2 separate regions of the Homo sapiens genome follow, and region 2 is linked to region 1. The links are contacts of gene promoters, found by promoter capture Hi-C in blood cells and fetal thymus (Javierre and others, 2016). All regions are on one chromosome and are shown on one strand. The core of a region is centred on a gene start or on the middle of the fragment in contact, and the rest is flanking DNA. Distances in the headings are between cores, read along the strand shown.

Evidence for each region. Contacts are between HindIII fragments. The CHiCAGO score rates a contact against its expected background, and 5 or more counts as called.
Region 2: a contact is called between a fragment that was not itself captured here and the fragment with the promoter of CA5A in region 1, in 2 of 17 cell types (total B cells and naive B cells). The highest score is 7.0, in total B cells.

Annotation. Positions count from the first base shown.
Region 1 is chr16:87,933,892-87,937,981 of GRCh38, reverse strand. CA5A (carbonic anhydrase 5A) reads left to right here and starts at 1,453. Exons shown (of 7, transcript NM_001739.2): 1 at 1,453-1,673. The coding sequence starts at 1,532. The HindIII fragment of the contact is 28,449 bases long and covers 1-4,090 here.
Region 2 is chr16:88,053,142-88,057,150 of GRCh38, reverse strand. The region is part of intron 11 of BANP (BTG3 associated nuclear protein); the gene reads right to left. Among named protein-coding and RNA genes, the nearest start is that of BANP, 100 kb to the right of the region's middle. The HindIII fragment of the contact is 167 bases long and covers 1,976-2,142 here.

The DNA.
Region 1 (4,090 bases), core at 204-2,703:
CAAATAATTTTTAAAATTAGCTGGACATAATGGCATGCACCTATAGTCCCAGCTACTTGGGAGGCTGAGGAGGGAGGATCACTTGAGCCTGGGTGATTGAGACTGCAGTGAGCCATGATGGCACCACCGCACTCCACCTTGGGTGACAGAGCAAGACCTCACCTCAAAAAAAAAAAAAAAAAGAAAGAAAGAAAGAAAGAAAGAAAGAAAGAAAAGAAAAGAGGCTGGACGCAGTGGCTCATGCCTGTAATCCTAGCACTTTAGGAGGCCGAGGTGGGTGGATTGCCTGAGCTCAGGAGTTCGAGACCAGCTTGGGGAACACAGTGAAACCCCGTCTCTACTAAAAATACAAAAAATTGGCCGTTGTGGTGGTGTGTGCCTATAATCCCAGCTACTCAGGAGGCTGAGACAGGAGAATTGCTTAAACCTGGGAGGCAAAGGTTGCAGTGAGGCAGGATCACGCCATTGCACTCCAGCCTGGGCAACAGAGCGAGACTCCATCTCAAAAAAAGAAAGAAAGAAAAGAAAAGAAACGAAGAAAAGAGGCTGGGCGTAGTGGCTCACACTTGTAATCCCAGCACTTTGGGAGGCCGAGGCAGGCAGATCACCTGAGGTCAGGAGTTCAACACCAGCCTGGCCAACGTGGTGAAACCCCATCTCTACTAAAAATACAAAAAATTAGCTGGGCATGGTGGTGGGCGCCTGTAATCCCAGCTACTCAGGAGGCTGAGGCAGGAGAATTGCTTGAACCTGGGAGGCAGAGGTAGCAGTGAGCCGAGATCACGCCATTGCACTCTAGCCTGGGCAACAGAAGTGAAACTCTGTCTAAAAAAAAAAAGAAAAGGAAAGAAAGAAAGGTGGCCCTGTTAATGTTTATGCCAAGACAGCAGGCATGACCTGGAAGTGTCCGAAGCCACAGGGCATCTTGCTTCCGGGGAGGATGAATGAATCAAATCGCACCTATTTTAAGGCAAGCAAGGACTCCATGACTTCAGGAGCCCTGGTGGGTGGACAGAAGCTCCCTGCTCCCCTGGCCTGTCTACCCAGCAGCGCTTTGGCCAGTCCCATTCCTGTACTTCTGAGCCTGCCTGCCAGTCCCTCCTCACATGCACACCATGGCTTTGTGCCTGGTATTGAGTGTCCCGGAGCCCCAAACCACACGGTCAACCCCATGAAAGAAACAGGGACTCTGCTCTCATCCACTCGCCCCCGCCTCCCGCGTAATCCCCTGGTGCTCACGCAGCCCCACCGTACAGTTTTTCTAGCTCCCTGGCAGACTTGTGCTCCTGTTTGCCAGATCAAAGCCCAGTGACCTGAGTGGCCTGTCCCCAGCAGAGGCCACTAATCCCTGTGGACCCACCCTGTTGGGAAAGGCATGGGTTGAACTTTAACCATTAGGCTCAGGGGTTGGGATGAGTTTCTACAAAAAGAGGTGGGTACACGCCAGTCCACAGTGGTCCTGATCAAAGTGAGAACAGACAGCAGGGAACATCACCCTCTTCAGACTGGAGTCAGTGGGAACAGACCCAAGATGTTGGGGAGGAACACTTGGAAGACCTCAGCTTTCTCCTTCTTGGTTGAGCAGATGTGGGCCCCTCTCTGGAGTCGTTCGATGAGGCCAGGGCGATGGTGTTCTCAGCGTTCCTGTGCATGGCAAACCAGCAATAACACTTGTAAGTAGAGCCTCAAATTTCCTAAGATGCGACTGGATCCTTGTCTTAGCTGATGGGGTCTTTCGAGAGGAGAGAGGAGAGACCGTCCCGAGCCAGATGGGTTCAGATTTCCACTCCGTTTTTTTTTTTTTTTTTTTAAGATGGCGTCTCGCTCTGTGGCCCAGGCTGGAGTACAGTGGCGTGATCTCAGCTCACCACAACCTCCACTTCCCGGGTTCAAGCGATTCTCCTGCCTCAGCTTCCTGAGTAGCTGGGACTATAGGTGCATGCCACCACTCCTGGCTAATTTTTCGTATTTTTAGTAGAGACAGGGTTTCACTGTGTTAGCCAGGTTGGTCTCGAACTCCTAACCTCGCGATCCGCCTGTCTCAGCCTCCCAAAGTGCTGGGATTGCAGGCATCAGCCACGGCGCCCGGCCCTCTTTTTTCTTTTTTTGATGAAGTTTTGCTCTTTTGCCCAGGCTAGAGTGCAATGGCATGATCTCGGCTCACTGCAACCTCTGCCCTCCAGGTTCAAGTGATTCTCCTGCCTCAGCCTCCAAAGTAACTGGGACTACAGGCACCCGCCACTGCACCCAGCTAATTTTTTGTATTTTGGTAGAGATGGGGTTTCACCATGTTGGCCAGGCTGGTCTCGAACTCCTGACCTCAGGTGATCCACCCACCTTGGCCTCCCAAAGTGCTAGGATTACAGGCGTGAGCCACCGCGCCTGGCCACACTCCGTTTCTCTTGTATTTGGTGACCTTGGGTGAATCATTTAGCCTCCGTTTCAGGGGTCCTGGGGAGGGCAAGATGCTGGGAGCAGGCGGGTAGTCCGTGTTCGCACGGGACACACTGGCACGACTCACCATCCAGACCCGGCGGAATGGGCTGCACTAACCAGTCACGATCGCTCCTAAACTCTTCGGCAGAGAACGCTTTCAAGCAAACCTGTAACAAATAAACCACTCAGCCAGCTCTGCCAAGAAACTGCCCCGTGCCAGCCCCTCCTGGCTTCATGGTCAGTGCCTTGTGACCTTGAACGAGGCCCTTCCTCTTTCTGGGTCTCAGGTGCTTCCTCCGTAGAATGAGAGCCTGCTTTGGCAGCTGCCAAGTTCTCTTCTAACTGAAATCTTCCATGCATTCCATGTTTGGGCCATTGAAAGAGCATGGGCTTAGGAGCCAGACCCCAGGCATGCAGTCCGACTGACGCTTGCTGAGGTGGAGCCTCGGCAGGTCTTCACCCCCAAGCCTCTGTGTCCTTATCTCGAGATGGGGGTGGCCAGACTTTCTCTCCAGGGCCATGGAAGGATGACACGATGCGTGTAGAAAGCCTGGCCCACCCCAGACTCTGAGTGAGCTACACTCATTCCTCCTGTTGGGGTCCACACCTGTGGACTGGAGTGCAGTGGTGCGATCTCGGCTCACTGCAGCCTCTGCCTCCTGGGTTCAAGCGATCCTCTTGACTCAGCCTCCCAAGTAGCTGGGACTACAGGCGTGTGCCACCACGCCCAACTAATTTCTGTATTTTTAGTAGAGATAGGATTTCGCCATGTTGGCCAGGCTGGTCTCAAACTCCCGACCTCAGGTGGTCTACCTGCCTCGGCCTCCTAAAGTGCTGGGATTACAGGCGTGAGCCACTGCACCCACCCCCCTTTTTTATTCTTAGTACGACCGTCAAGAGCGCTAGCCTGCCTAGATTGGAATCTTGGCCCCACTGCTCTATGGCTGTTGCCCCTCTGTGACTTTCCTTTATTTTTTGAGACTAATTTCTGTCTTGTTGCCCAGGCTGGAGCGCAGTGGTGCGATCTCCAGCTCACCGCAACCCCCACCTCCCAGGTTCAAGCAATTCTCCTGCCTCAGCCTCCCGAGTAGCTGGAATTACAGGCATGCGCCACCACATCCGGCTAATTTTGTATTTTTAGTAGATACAGGGATTCTCCATGTTGCTCAGGGTGGTCTTGAACTCCCAGCCTCAGGTGATCTGCCCGCCTCAGCCTCCCAAAGTGCTGGGATTGCAGGCGTGAGCCACCACGCCCAGCTGTCCCCTCTGTGACTTTCTTAACTTCCCCCAGCCTTGGTTTTGTCGTCTGTAACAGGGGGTTGATAATGGTGCTTACGGCACAGTGTCGTTGGGAGAAGGGTCCGAGGTGGGGCCTGCAAAGGCTGGGGACAGCACATGGCTCCAGGAAGCCCTTGCTAGACGCCAGCTGCTGCTGTTGCTAACACAGGCAGCGGTGGGTGCCCTGTGTCTATTTAAGCATTTCCCTGTCAGTGGGCAGCAGGTAGCATTCCATTTCTTACTGTGGCAACATGTCCTCTTACATCGTGTGCTAGAGAGAGTCATATTCTGTATCGGCACCTAAATCCATTTACACCATGGTCCTCAACCTGTTCCCAGTGAACAGAGGGCTCTGCCAAATCATTTCAGAGTTCCA
Region 2 (4,009 bases), core at 810-3,309, 120 kb before region 1:
GCAGACACAGCTCAACAACGGCAACAGAAAAGTCTCAGAACACCCAAAGAATCACCAAAACTCCCTTATTCAGAAAAAGTTCTCACATTTGGATCCCACCAAAAGGATTTGTAAAGTTATTCAGAAATCACACTTTTTCTGCTTTTTGAGTTACAGAGTTTTAAATCAGTACTGTTCTATATGTTTTCATGATTAAAGATCTGGTGAACGTAAGCCGTAGTTTTAAATGGCTCAAACAAGAGTATTTCCAAATGTCTTCAATGTGTGCATCATATAACTAACTGCTAACTTGGCAACAGTTGCCATTGTATTCATTCACTCAATGATCACTCAGTGTTGCTAAGTATACTACACTGGGTATGACAGGTAAAAGAAATGAATAACCTTTTAAATATATATTTGAAAATGGTAAAATTGATCAAAAACAATCTTCGAATCATCAGGCCTGCCACCACTGTCTGACATCACAGAGTCTGATGCGGGGCTAAACAAAAGGGCCAGGAGTGCAGGGGCCAGCGTGAAGCGTGACCAGAGCAGTGGGAGCATCTCAGGGGTTGTGATAAAGACATTTCAGCTTCAGCTAACAGCGAGCCCTTCGAAGGCACCATTGTTTCAACTGAGTAAAACACTGAAAGTGTACATTTCAGTCATCATTTCATCTAAGTTCTCTCTCTAAAAAAAAAAAAAAAGAGAGAGAATACGCTTCCCAGCCAAACACTTTGTCCAGCTTGTCCTGGGCCCTTGCCTGACTTAAAGATTCTTCTACGCTGCAACCACAGACAGTGTCCCAAGAAATTCAATGGGACAAAAATGATAGTCCTCAAATTAGTACACCTATTTTACTGACTAGTCATCACTCAAGCCTGAAACTACCTTCCTTGCTGCTTGCCAAAACAGACCAAGAAGCAAAGAAGCAGAGAGTCCTTGGAGTTCCACAGCCACTCCACACTCTCAGAACACTCTGCTGCATGCGGCAAGCCTGTTAGGGGCCACAAGGACCCCTCCAGTGTCAGAGCCACAGGCAGGAGACACCACGGCCTCCCTTTGTAAGTCAGGGCCCCACCTCCCCAGACAGGGCAAGGAAGCTGAAGAGCCAGCTGTCCAGGTGGGCCTGAGCCCCCCAGCAAGGCAGCAGGAGGCATGCGGGCAGCTCCACACCTTTCCCAGGGGGTTTCTTGGGACTAGTCAACACCAAACTCACTCCACTTCAGACCTTTTATGATTTAAATTACATTTTCCACCATTTCTGGTAGAGAAGGCTTCTCCATAAGAGATTAATTCCCTAAACCACTGAGAGTCTCCAAGATTTCTGCTTGTGTTTTGGCATGTAATGCAGGAATATATTTTCTTGATGGGAGCATTTTTATTACAAGTGACATAGGGTGTGTGTCTAGGAAGGCGAGATGATCCTCCTTCTGTGACAAACCATTTAGAGTGGCCTAAAGCCTCCTGGAAATACAAGAGGCCATTTTTCAGCTATAGATAAAGACACCCTGCACACACACACTCCTTCTCCTCGCTCTCTCCAAAAAAATCCTACACGTAAAATGTTGGACATTTCCCATGTCTTCTAATCTTTTTCCCAGCTGGGTCTAGAAGGCCTTATTTCATGGAAAAAGATTCTGAAGCCTTCTGAAACTTACTCTTAAGCGAAGTATCAGGAGGAATACAAATGCCAAAGATGGGAGAGAAGCTGAAAAGCTTCAAGGTCACCAAGCCTGCCGTCAGCTGAACCCTGGTCAAGTCATTGCACAGGTGCACAGTGGGAACGCCCTGGATCCGTCACTGCTTTGCTTAACTTTACTAAATGTACACGCGTCATGTGTACGTACACATATTCAATCATTCAGGGGTGTGTGTGCGGAGGGGGTGGGTGGGTGTATGGATTACAGATGGGTTTACCAGAACATACACAAAATACCTCCTAGCTTTTCCAGTGATTTCACATTGTTTAGCCTATAAACATATATAAGCTTTGTTCGTGCACATCTTAGGTAACATTAGCTACATCTGTTTAAAAAAAAAAAGGGCAAAAAAGGGCAAAAAAAAAGTATTAAAATACACACGTACTAGAAACAGTACTAAATAATTTCATGATTCATGATCTAAGCAGCATGATTAATAATCAAGCCTTGAAAAGCTTCCCATGTGACTGAAAATCTTCCAAATATAGTGAAAGAACTGACCCAGATTTGAACATCTCAATAGATATAATACCCCCTAGGAACAGAGTTTGGTACTAACTGTTCAAACCATACTGCACATTAGATTCAATCTGCAGAATCCAAATTCAACACTGTGAAGGCTTTATCCTGAAGCAACACTGAGGACCTTCCATTTCTATCACACCTAAGCTACTACTCAAGGCCTACATAGTAAGGACAGAAGCCATGCCCACTGACCCTCCATAAATATTCCTATGAGCTAGGCAAAGGAAGCACTGTCATTTCAGTCTCGACAGGAAGAGGGTGAGAGGCCAATAAGTAGATAGATTAGAAAACAACTCAGGATAATCAGGAAATTCACTTGACCCCTTGACGGTGCTGGTGCTGGTGCTGGTGCTGTTGATGGCTGTGATAGCACTGGGAGTGGTGGGGGTGGCGGAGGTAAGGGCAACGGAGAGGGTGACAGGGACAATGGTGGTAGAGGTCATGCTGTGATAGATGTGTTGTTGGTAGTGGTGGTGAGGATGAGGGACATAATAGTGGTGGAGGTGGTGGTGGTAGTGTTTGTTAAGGTGGTTGTGTTGGTGATGATGGAGATAGTAGAGGTGGTGGTGGTAGTGGTTGTTAGGGTGGCTGTGTTGGTGGTGATGATGGAGATGACAGTGGTGAAGGTGGTTGTGTTGGTGATGATGATGGAGATGACAGTGGTAGAGGTGGTGGTGGTGGTGAAGGTGACTGTGTTGGTGATGGTGATGATAGTGAAGGAGGTGGGGGTGGTAGTCGTTAGGGTGGTTGTGTTGGTGATGATGATGATGATGGAGATGATGGTGGAGGTGGTGGTGGTAGTGTTTGTTAAGGTGGTTGTGGTTGTGCTGGTGATGATGATGGAGATGACAGTAGAGGTGGTGGTGAAGGTGGTTGTGTTGGTGATGATGATGATGGAGATGACAGTGGTAGAGGTGGTGGTGGTGGTAAAGGTGGTTGTGTTGGTGATGGTGATGATAGTGAAGGAGGTGGGAGTGGCTGTTAGGGTGGTTGTGTTGGTGATGATGATGGAGATGACAGTGGTAGAGGTGGTGGTGGTGGTGAAGGGGACTGTGTTGGTGATGGTGATGATAGTGAAGGAGGTGGGGGTGGTAGTGGTTGTTAAGGTGGTTGTGTTGGTGATGATGGAGATAGTAGAGGTGGTGGTGGTAGTGGTTGTTAGGGTGGCTGTGTTGGTGATGATGATGGAGATGACAGTAGAGGTGGTGGTGAAGGTGGTTGTGTTGGTGATGATGATGATGGAGATGACAGTGGTAGAGGTGGTGGTGGTGGTGGTGAAGGTGACTGTGTTGGTGATGGTGATGATAGTGAAGGAGGTGGGGGTGGTAGTCGTTAGGGTGGTTGTGTTGGTGATGATGATGATGATGGAGATGATGGTGGAGGTGGTGGTGGTAGTGTTTGTTAAGGTGGTTGTGGTTGTGCTGGTGATGATGATGGAGATGACAGTAGAGGTGGTGGTGAAGGTGGTTGTGTTGGTGATGATGATGATGGAGATGACAGTGGTAGAGGTGGTGGTGGTGGTAAAGGTGGTTGTGTTGGTGATGGTGATGATAGTGAAGGAGGTGGGAGTGGGAGTGGCTGTTAGGGTGGTTGTGTTGGTGATGATGATGGAGATGACAGTGGTAGAGGTGGTGGTGGTGGTGAAGGGGACTGTGTTGGTGACGGTGATGATAGTGAAGGAGGTGGGGGTGGTAGTGGTTGTTAGGGTGGTTGTGTTGGTGATGATAATGATGGAGATGATAGTGGTGGAGGTGGTGGTGGTAGTGTTTGTTAAGGTGGTTATGGTTGTGTTGGTGATG